Regions from separate parts of the Homo sapiens genome. Here region 2 is linked to region 1. Evidence: promoter capture Hi-C in 16 types of primary human blood cells and fetal thymus (Javierre and others, 2016). All regions are on one chromosome and are shown on one strand. The core of a region is centred on a gene start or on the middle of the fragment in contact, and the rest is flanking DNA. Distances in the headings are between cores, read along the strand shown. Region 1 holds the start of PRKCE-AS1 (PRKCE antisense RNA 1). Region 2 overlaps PRKCE (protein kinase C epsilon).

Evidence for each region. The method cuts DNA at HindIII sites, captures the fragments that hold promoters and counts their contacts. A CHiCAGO score of 5 or more calls a contact.
Region 2: a fragment that was not itself captured here is called in contact with the fragment with the promoter of PRKCE-AS1 in region 1 in 1 of 17 cell types (naive B cells); the score reaches 5.7 in naive B cells.

Annotation. Positions count from the first base shown.
Region 1 is chr2:45,673,203-45,678,212 of GRCh38, forward strand. PRKCE-AS1 (PRKCE antisense RNA 1) reads right to left here and starts at 2,318. Exons shown (of 2, transcript XR_940049.3): 1 at 2,108-2,318; 2 at 138-1,705. All of the region lies in intron 1 of PRKCE (protein kinase C epsilon), which reads left to right. The HindIII fragment of the contact is 8,353 bases long and covers 505-5,010 here.
Region 2 is chr2:45,940,480-45,945,489 of GRCh38, forward strand. The region is part of intron 2 of PRKCE (protein kinase C epsilon); the gene reads left to right. Among named protein-coding and RNA genes, the nearest start is that of PRKCE-AS1, 270 kb to the left of the region's middle. The HindIII fragment of the contact is 5,163 bases long and covers 1-4,822 here.

The DNA of each region.
Region 1 (5,010 bases), core at 1,068-3,567:
GATTCTTCCTTTCAAGTTGTAACTCTTCCCTTGGAGCAGGGTTTCCCAAAATGTGTTCCAAACAATATAAGAAGTGAATAGGTCATTCACACTCAAAAACGAATGCCATAATCAAGTGAATTTGGAAAACCATAGAGTAAATGAAGCTAAACATTTATTGCAGGACTTTTTTTTACAGCCTTCGATAGGCTATTTTCCATCAGTTTTCTGGATGGCAATTGAGCGAGCAGTGTTTCCAACTGTATTTGATTGTTCAACACACATTTAGGGACAGTACTTACATCTCTTGATGTCATTTGGGAAACACTGTCTTAGAATCTGGACCCTACTATTTAAAGTTAATACGACATATTTAGGGCTGCTGGCCAAGAGAAACTAACATGGTGAGGAGGAAATAATCATTATCCATTTATGTTAATATTTTTATCATAAAGACTAAAACTTTGTTTTTTAAACTAGGATCCCAAGTGTTGTTTATAGACACTTGACTACAGAAGAGAGAAAAGCTTAGGTTGAACAAGTGTTTGTAGAGTATATGAAAATAGAAGTGCAAACAAGGCCCCTATTAGCCAGATTTTCTGAATAATATTCTAGGAGTTCATCCTTGTTCTGTCTTTAGTGAGTGACATTTATAAAGCAGTAGCAAAGCCAATATCATGGTTCCAGGGATCGTTCCTATGGAATTACATTGGCTGAGGACAGAGACCCACTCTTCCTCCTCTTTCCTGAATCAGGTCAGGGTGAATATTATCCAAGTGCAATTGAACTCTTGCTCCTTCTGTTCACAAATCAATTGTTGCTTGATTGGACCCAGAATGTTTGCTGCTCATCAACTCTCTTTTGAAGGTGTATCTCAATATTTCATTTCCTTGTGTTTATTGGAAAATATTTTTTAAAAGCTACTTGCAAAGATGTAAGCGTGATCATTGGGGTTGACTTGCGGCGAAAATGTGAAGGAGTCAAAGACTGATTTCAGGTTTTGTGCACGCTCCTTCCACTTCTGAGCCCCTCCAAGCCTGGGGCCCAGCCAGGATTCCTCACTTCCTCTTGGCTGAGTATAAACTCATTTACACTGAGGTAGATGGCCGTAATGAGATATATAAGACTGGTGCTTTAGAAGAGTGCTGTGGAGGAGGCCTTCCTTTATCTGGAGGGTGACATGGCAATGTCTGGAATTTTCAGATATCAGTGACAGGAAAAGATGGACTTTTGGGTCAAGAGGACTCTGTCAAACCAGGTACTAACTGGAGACCAGGCTATTTCTGAGATCATACTCTGTGTCAAGGGCTAGGGATCTTTACATGAGCCTTCAATTGTAAGTCAGGGCCCAACTCACTGTGGTCAGTGCATATATTTCTAGATTACCTCACTTTGGAAATGCTTGTCTCCCCACTCTGTGAGGGATTAGTGCTTCTCCACTTTAAAGGAAAAACAGGTCATAAATTACTGAGGAATTTTATGGCACAGCCCAAAGCACAGATTGGAGGCCAAGGAAAAATAAAACTCCAGCTTCTTTATGAAAGTCAAATGGAAAAGAGAAGATGCTTCCTGAAAAGAGGTGGGCACTGCTTGAGGGAGAGGAGGGAAAGGACTCTGAGTGAGTCTACAGGAACTCCTTTTGGTGTCCTTGAGGAGTTTATGAGAATTCTCGGCCTCATCTTGATAAACTTGAAGGCAAAGTGAAGCAGGCAGTTGAACTGTTTGTCTGGGAAATGGATGAGAGACATGATTATTTTTGGTAGCAAGATTTTCTGTGTTTGGATTATGCATGTTATAAATCCAGTATCTTAATTTCCATTTGCCTTGGGTGATCCATATGCCTAATTTTAATTCAATGCTGATTAAATGTCAGAGAAGGAAAGGAAGGGATGAGGTGAGAGTTTCCAAGCCTGGCTGACCAGGAAGACAGCAGGCAGATCTTGGAGACTGGACCTCATCAATTATAAAGAGAAAAATCCCCTGTAAGTTACAAAACAAAATAGCACAAGAAAACACTCTGTAGATGTACATTAAGCCGTCTCCTTTCCAGAAAACGTTTCCCCAGACCAGGAAGACCCAGCGTGCCCCTTAGCACCTTAGCCCAGGCCTTCAGCTCTTCTCAGCTCACCTTTTTCTCCAGTGAATAAACATGATGCTGTTTTTAAGTCTTTGCTTCCTTGTTTCTAGCCCATGTTTTACTCCAGAGCAGTGAGGGCACTTGTGACCAGCTTTGGGGAGATGAATACACTGTCATTTATACATAAATGCACTGTCATTTATCATTTCAGAATTGGAGTGAATTCTAAATGAATCATAACAGTTGCATTTAATGAATTATTCTCCTGGGTATTGGCTAATTTTAAACCGGTCTGACGAGTTTTAAGGTCCATGTGGTTTGAGGAAATTCAGTGGTGCATTTCCCGGTTTGGTCCTCCTCATTTCCCTCCAGCCCTGCTCCTTTTCAACATGCCAGGCTGCTTGGCTGGGTTATCTTTAATCACTGTAGGTGGGAGGAGGGGAGGCGGGGAGGTACTGGGCCCAAGGTCATGCCAGAAGAGTTCAGGCCTCTGCTTGTCATCTGGCACTGCTCAGAATTCCCAGGGGTCTCCGGGGAGCTGGCCCTCAGCTCACAGATGGGCCTGACTTTGGTGAGAGGTGGCCTTCCACCAGGAAGCCTCCAGCTGGCAGGATAGGTGGGTGGGGAGGGGTGAACTTTGGCTGTGGAAGCGTCTCAGCATTTTACTCCCCTTTTTCAATAGTTGCTGCCTCCACTCCACGCTTTTATTCAAGCAGCACCGGTACCTGGCAGTAGCTCCTACAATGTTTTCTACATTGGCTCTAAAATCATGGCCTAGTAGACACCAATGCTTGACTTGTTTTTTTGTTTGTTTGTTTTGAGAAGTTGTTTACCATTGGCGTGACGGGATTTTCTTGGCCTTGTGAAGTACAGGGAGCCTCAGGATAGCTTCACTGGGGGTGTCATTACATGGTCATTATCAGTGGTAAGTTTCCCAGTCTCAAGATGGAACCCTCTGTTGCTTCTCTGCCGCGTGTTTGGCTCTGTTGACCTTCCATTGCTCACCTGTGCTTGTTCCCCCAGCAGCCTGTTTCTTGTAACTATTTGCCTCATAATGCAAGTATTCTAGTGATTGAAGTGTTGCTGTGCAAAAGAGATCTTTTAAACTGAAACCAGTGCAACAAAACAATTTAAAACATTTTAATAATTTCTTAAAGGATACAGAGCCTTTTCCTCTCTTAATACATGCAGGTCAGAATGACGTCAATAAGGATTATATTTTTGCATTAACAGGAAAACTAAGTTTATAAGACTAGAGTATGGATAGAGAGGAAGATGGTTCTATTGGGATATAAACTCTGATCCATACATGGAAGTAGCCCAGTCCGTACAAACACCATTGCCTGTTTCATTCTTGACTGGACATACATATTGCCCCATTGTGATGAAAGGTTGTGATAATGAAGAGAGTAATAGAAGGCTCAGCTCAGGTTCTAAGGAGGGAGCGAGTAAAGGCCATGCAGGCCCATCCTTCTGTGGTCAGTCACTGCTGGTTGGGGAAGGAAGGAGGTATCAAGTGTCTCCATTCTTTCCTCTTTTCTTCATAGTTTCTAGATCATTCATTTAATAAATCATTAGGGAGCCCCTGCCATCAAGCTAGGTCTTGGGATATAACCAGGAACATGCCTAGATAGGTACCCTAATCTCAGAGGGCTCATGCTCCAATTGGGGGACAGATACTCAAACAGGCAATTATGACATAGTTCATAAAGCCCTGTGATGTATGCCACCAGAGTACCCAAAAGGGCCCCAAACTAGACATGGGGAGTTGGGGAAGGCTTTTGGGAGAAGGCGACATTTCAGCAGAGACCTGAAAGGAGAAACTGGAGACAGTTTAATGTGACTACTGCGAAGTACTGTGGGGGGTGGGAGTAGGTTGGGGGCATGGGGACAAGTAAGCTGTTTTTTGTCAGCTGCCATTGATCTTCCTCCCTCTCCTCCTCCCTCCCTGCTTCCTTCCTTCTTTCCGATTTAACCCTGGAATCACGAGAGGCCACTTTAGGTGGATAGCAACTCTTGAATTTGGGCTTTATTCTGAGGGTTATGGAGGAGCCAGTGAAGGTTTTTTTTTTGTTTTTTTTTTTGTTGTTGTTGTTTTTTTTTTTTTTTGAGACGGAGTCTCGCTCTGTCGCCCAGGCCGGACTGCGGACTGCAGTGGCGCAATCTCAGCTCACTGCAAGCTCCGCTTCCCGGGTTCCCGCCATTCTCCTGCCTCAGCCTCCCGAGTAGCTGGGACTACAGGCGCCCGCCACCGCGCCCGGCTAATTTTTTGTATTTTTAGTAGAGACGGGGTTTCACCTTGTTAGCCAGGATGGTCTCGATCTCCTGACCTCATGATCCACCCGCCTCGGCCTCCCAAAGCAGTGAAGGTTTTTTAAGCAGAGAAATAACCTGATCAGATTCAAATTGTATCACCCTGTGGGATGGACTAGACATGGATTAGAACATTAGGAAACTGCTTTAGGTATTTAGCCTGGTAAAGATACTCTGGCTTGTGGTCGGGTGTTATTTGCTGGGTGGGCTCTGGCTTAAAAGGCAATTGCTTTAGATCGTTGTGGAAAATTCTGTTTCAGAGACACAACCGCTTCAGATGGGCAGTGAAAAAGACGATGGAAAGGCCAGGACACCACGGAAGTTCTGAAGGGGTAGTGGGAACCGGTAGGAGCATATCAGTAGCTTTCCCTGCCCTTTTGTCTGCCACTGTGATGTAAATATCAACTTGATTTTACATGGAGCTGAGGAACCTTTTAGAACCCAATCGAAGAAGTTGGTGGTTCTACACCGAGCCAGGGGGAAAACTTTGTGGTCACATGGGAATTTATACTTACTTGGTTTCTCTGCCTTTCTCACCAATTTCTTTTTGGTTTCTTGAGAGCTGGTTGTGTGCATATGTGAATACATATTGCATGTTGAAATTTTGGGTTTTCTTTTTTAAACCTTTAATGTTCTACCCA
Region 2 (5,010 bases), core at 991-3,490, 270 kb after region 1:
TCAAAAATATTTGGAGACGTCTGGCTTAGTAGGCCCAAGTCAGTCAAAGAAATGGAAGAAGCAGAGAACACGTTAATTGGAGCAAGAAGAAGATGATGACTTGTATCCAGGGCCAGGTACATTCACTGGTCCACACATACACTCTGTTCACACAGCGCACACTCTTGCGCTCACAAGTGTTCACTCTCACGTACCGCATGCATGTCACACATGCTTTCACTCCCACACATGCTTTCAAACACATACATATACCTTTTGCTTAATAACTTACAAGAATTAAAAAGTTGATAGGCACCTGGCCGGGCGTGGTGGCTCATGCCTGTAATCCTAGCACTTTGGGAAGCCAAAGCAGGCAGATCACTTGAGGTCAGGAGTTCAAAACCAGCCTGGCCAACATGGTGAAACCCCATCTCTATTAAAAATACAAAAAAAAAAAATTAGCCAGGCATGGTGACAGGTGCCTGTAATCCCAGCTACTTGGGAGGCTGAGGCAGGAGACTCGCTTGAGCCTGGGAGGTGGAGATTGCAGTGAGCCAAGATCATGCCACTGCACTCCAGCCTGGGTGACAGAGTGAGACTTCATCCTAAAAAAAAAAAAAAAAAAAAAAGATGATAGGCACCTATTCCCTACTGAACAAATGACTTATATACTAACCGAAAGAGGGCCACATGCTCCTGGGAACTGAAAGCAATACAGTAGCCTAGTTAATCCCTTGAAGAAGCACTCATGTGGCCACTTGCTCATGGATTTAACCCATTCTAGTGGCTGAGATCAGACCCAGACCTCAAGAAGCCAGCATGTGGTGCATGTGCAGTGACCAGAGCTTAGTGATCTGGGCATTTTCTGCATGTTCAACAAATATTGGATGGACATCATTGGTATATTCATCTATAGATTAGGTGATCTGAGGGCAGGTGAGAGGAAAAGACGTGGCCTCCAGCCTTAAGAAACTTATTACTCTTTGGAATGGGAGATCATACAGACCTACATCAAACCAGGCACGGACGGATGTTTATAAAGCGTTAGACTCTGCAGCTCAGAGAAAGCAGGGCCGTGAAGGGGTGGGCTTTGAGGAAGACACAGAACTTCAACGGAACCTTGAAGAATGGGCAGTTGAATTAACAAAGGGGAGGGGAGATTCAGTCAGCACAATTCCATCTGTTGAGGGACTGAGGACCTGCTGAGCTAAAGATGCTTTTTGTAAATTGAGTGGTGCCTGGGTCACTGAGCAATTCAAGCATGCACTGGAAGAGCCTGGGAGGGACTTGAAGTTAGGGCCTAGATAACCTCTACGGTCCACTGGAGTCCCAGAGTGGTCTGATTACATGACAGCCTTCCCTGGCTAGTTCTGTCTAGGAGGTCATAGATTCATTAATTATGGGGGAGGGGGAGGTTCTTTATTGGGATAAAATACACTAGCTGGAGGAGAGTTTTACCTCTTCTACCCTGATTAAAACAGGAGAATCAAGCAAGAGGCTGCTGCAGGTAGCTGAAGTTTTTTTCTGAGTTGGCTCCATCTTTCAAAGAGCTGTCAAAGCACATGCTTAGAAACCAAACCTAATTGCTGTTATGAATTTGTTAGTTTGAAGTACGGCACCTCTGGCATGGTCCATGGAATGTGAGCACTCTTGCTTAGAGATGTATGGGAGCCAGGCTTTGAAACATTTACGTCTCATGTTGATCTGAGGCAGTTGCTATAAGACATTGATTCTAATTCTACCTGTTACATGTTGACAGGCTGAATCGTTGTGCTAGTTAAGGTCCAAAAACACCAATTAGAGAAGCGTTTCTGGCCAAAGACAATGCTTATCTGGGTGCACCCTGAAATGCCTCAAAGTTTACATGTGGGTTAGGAGAATGACATCATGTGGCTGATGACTTCCAAATTGTGCAAGTGAGAAAAAAATCATATAGGCAGTATGTTCCTCCCTGAAATCCATTGAGAGGATATAAAAGAGCAAGTCTCTTGTAAATGTTATTATAATTAATGTTGTCATATTATGTGTGACATGTCATATATGAGGAACGTGCAGCCGTTGTGATGTGAAAGGTCCCTGTGGCTCTCATGAGGGGAACAGCAGGGGATGGCGTAGGGTGTGCACTCAGTAAATTACTGTTGGTCTAATGACGAGGTCCCCGCAGGAAGGATTAGAACACGAATGGAATACAAATTCCTCTCTTTCCTGTGCTTTGTTGTGTAAGCACGCTTTGTTTTATGATTCTGCGATTAACTCTTGGAAAAAGTCACTTAATCTTCTTGAGATTCAGTTTTTTTCAACAATAAAATGAATTATAATGCATTATGTTTATTATAGTACACATGTAACTAAATGAGTATATATATCAAAATTTTCTGTAAACTTCATTTTTAATTAAACATCAGTGGAAATATGCTTACAGTAAAACATTTAACAGTAACAGTGCTTTAAAAGTATAAAAGAAAAGTTGTCCCCCCAACCTCTTATTCTCCACTCCCCAGAAGTTAGCTGCTGCTGTTCTTAATATACTTTAGAAGTGTTGCACAAATACATGTGATCATAATTCCCATTTATTTCACATAATATTTCTACTTTTATGGCATTTTGTAAATTGATGAATCATTTTAGCCAAAGAGGATGATTGTATCTCGGCGCTAGGATTCAGCTGTGAAGATTCAGGAGGCTTTAAGAGCTCATTTTAGGTAATTTTCTGCTTTTGAATATTGTAGAAAAGAAATTCCTTTGTTAAAGGACACAATTAAATATACTCCAAAGCAGACTAACATTCATTTATTCCTTTATTTAAAAAATGATTTCGCAGTCATCATGTGCAAAGCAGTTACCCAGTCTATGAAAGTTTAGAACCATAGCGTCTAAGCCAGCACATAGGAGTTGCACGTGGGTCCTATAGCTCAGAGTACATCTGCCAAAAGAGGGATAGGGCAGAGGGCCACGGAACTCACTGTGAGCCCCTCTAGCCGGGGCTTAGGAAGGTCTGCCAGGGGGCGCTAACATTTGGACTTGATCTTGCAGGTTAGTTGTAATTTAGTTTTACAAGATTAACTATTTTTCTCCCACAAAGACTCAAAATGGTTGAGGTTACACATGCCAGAAACATGCCAGAATTCCTTCTTTCCAGAGCCTTTTTTTTTCTGTCTTAAATGTTTTCCAGTTCCACTGTCTCAGAGGCCTTTGAGGAGGACACAGAATATAAAGTTCTCACCAGACGCCAGGATATAACAAATGTCAGCTAAGTTACACGTCTTAGCAGAAACCAAGCCTCCTCTCCTGCTTTCTGGGTCCCCTTTGTCAGGAGAGTTCCCAGTTTGCAGAATGCACCAGACAGCAGCAGGGGAGGCTGTGTCTGTGTTAAGTAAACAAAGGTGAATTTGGAGTGACCGCGCAGTGAAACTGCCCAGTCTAGATCATCAACGCAGGATTGTTTAAGTTGTTCAAGCTAGAAAAGGCACAGAGTGTTTGGTCCACTCACGTGGTTTTACAGTTTTGGAAACTGAGGCATTGAGCTGTGATGTGATTCGTTCAAAGGCAGATAGATGGTGGGGGCGATGGCTGAGTCAGATGTGGAAAGAATATAGGTATTATGAATCTATTCCAGGACTCAACCATGTTGGCAACCCTGCAGGGCCATTCTATGCATATTCTTGACTAGATTCATTGATCCCAAAGCCTTTTAGGCCCGAATCACTTCGTTGGTGACTCATTTCTTCCCTCCATTCTGCTTTGACTGCTGTCCATTTGCTCCATTCGGACTTTTTGATGCTCCTTTTGTTCCCCATATTGTGGGGTGCCTCAGGGTTCCAGGGCTGTAGGAAAAGCCTCAGCGTCTCTCCAGCAGCAGGCATTCCTTATGCATGAGCTCTACAGGAAATGCTGTTGAGCCAGTATAGTATCTAAGGCACAGCTCAGACTGGAGTGATGGCTATGCTGGTATACAGTTTTCAAAACTTATTGACTCGTAAACTTAAGATCTGTACGTTTTACTTTATGTAAATTCGTCCTCAATTTATTTTTATGTATTTAGTTTTTTGAGACAGGGTCTTGCTCTGTCGCCCAGGCTGGAGTACAGTGATGTGATCTCAGCTCACTGCAACCGCAGCCTCCCAGGCTCGAATGATACTCCCGCCTCAGTCTCCCAAGTAGCCGGGACTACAGGTGCGTGCCACCATACCCGGCTAATTTTTTTTTTTTTTTTTTTTTTTTTTTGTAGAGACAGGATTTTGCCATGTTGCCTAGGCTAGTCTCGAAGTCCTGGGCTCAAGCGATCCATCCACCTTGGCCTCCCAAAGTGCTGGGATTACAGGCATGAGCCACTGTGCTGGGCAATCCTCAATTTAAAAACAAAAACACAAAAACCTCAAGTGACTTCACTTATAAATCTTTGGACATTTAGGTTGGCGGATTCCCTTTGAAACCATTTTGCAAATGGATACAGAGGTGGCCCTAGGTAGAGTGGGGACACCTGTTTTTGTGCCCTCAGCCTTCCCTATCCCTGCCCTTTTCCTTTCCAGTAATGCTTCTTCCACTTCTTGTTCCTCTTTCAACTTCCCCCCTTCCTGAGCCTTCCATTGCCAAAACTTTCTCGCATTAGGCAGGGAAACGATGGCCACACCAATGCATTAAGAGTAAGATGTGTTCTGTGAGGATTTCAGTTTCAGAGGAACACCTGGGGAAGGCTGCTGTGTGAGTCCATTCTTGCCTTGCTATAAAGGAATTATTGAGGCCGGGTAATTTATAAAGAAAAGAGGTTTAATTGGCTCACAGTTCTGCAGGCTGTACAAGCATGGCACCAACATCTGCTTGGCTTCTGGTGAGGGCCTCAGGAAGCTTACGATCATGGCAGACGGTGAAGGGGAAGCCAGCATGTCACATGGCGAGAGCTGAAGCAAGAGCGGGGAGGTGTCATACTCTGTCAAACAACTGGATCTCATGTGAACTCAGAGTAAGAACTCTTGTTATCAGGACAGCCCCAAGCCATTCATGAGGGATCCGCCCTGTGACTCAAACACCTCC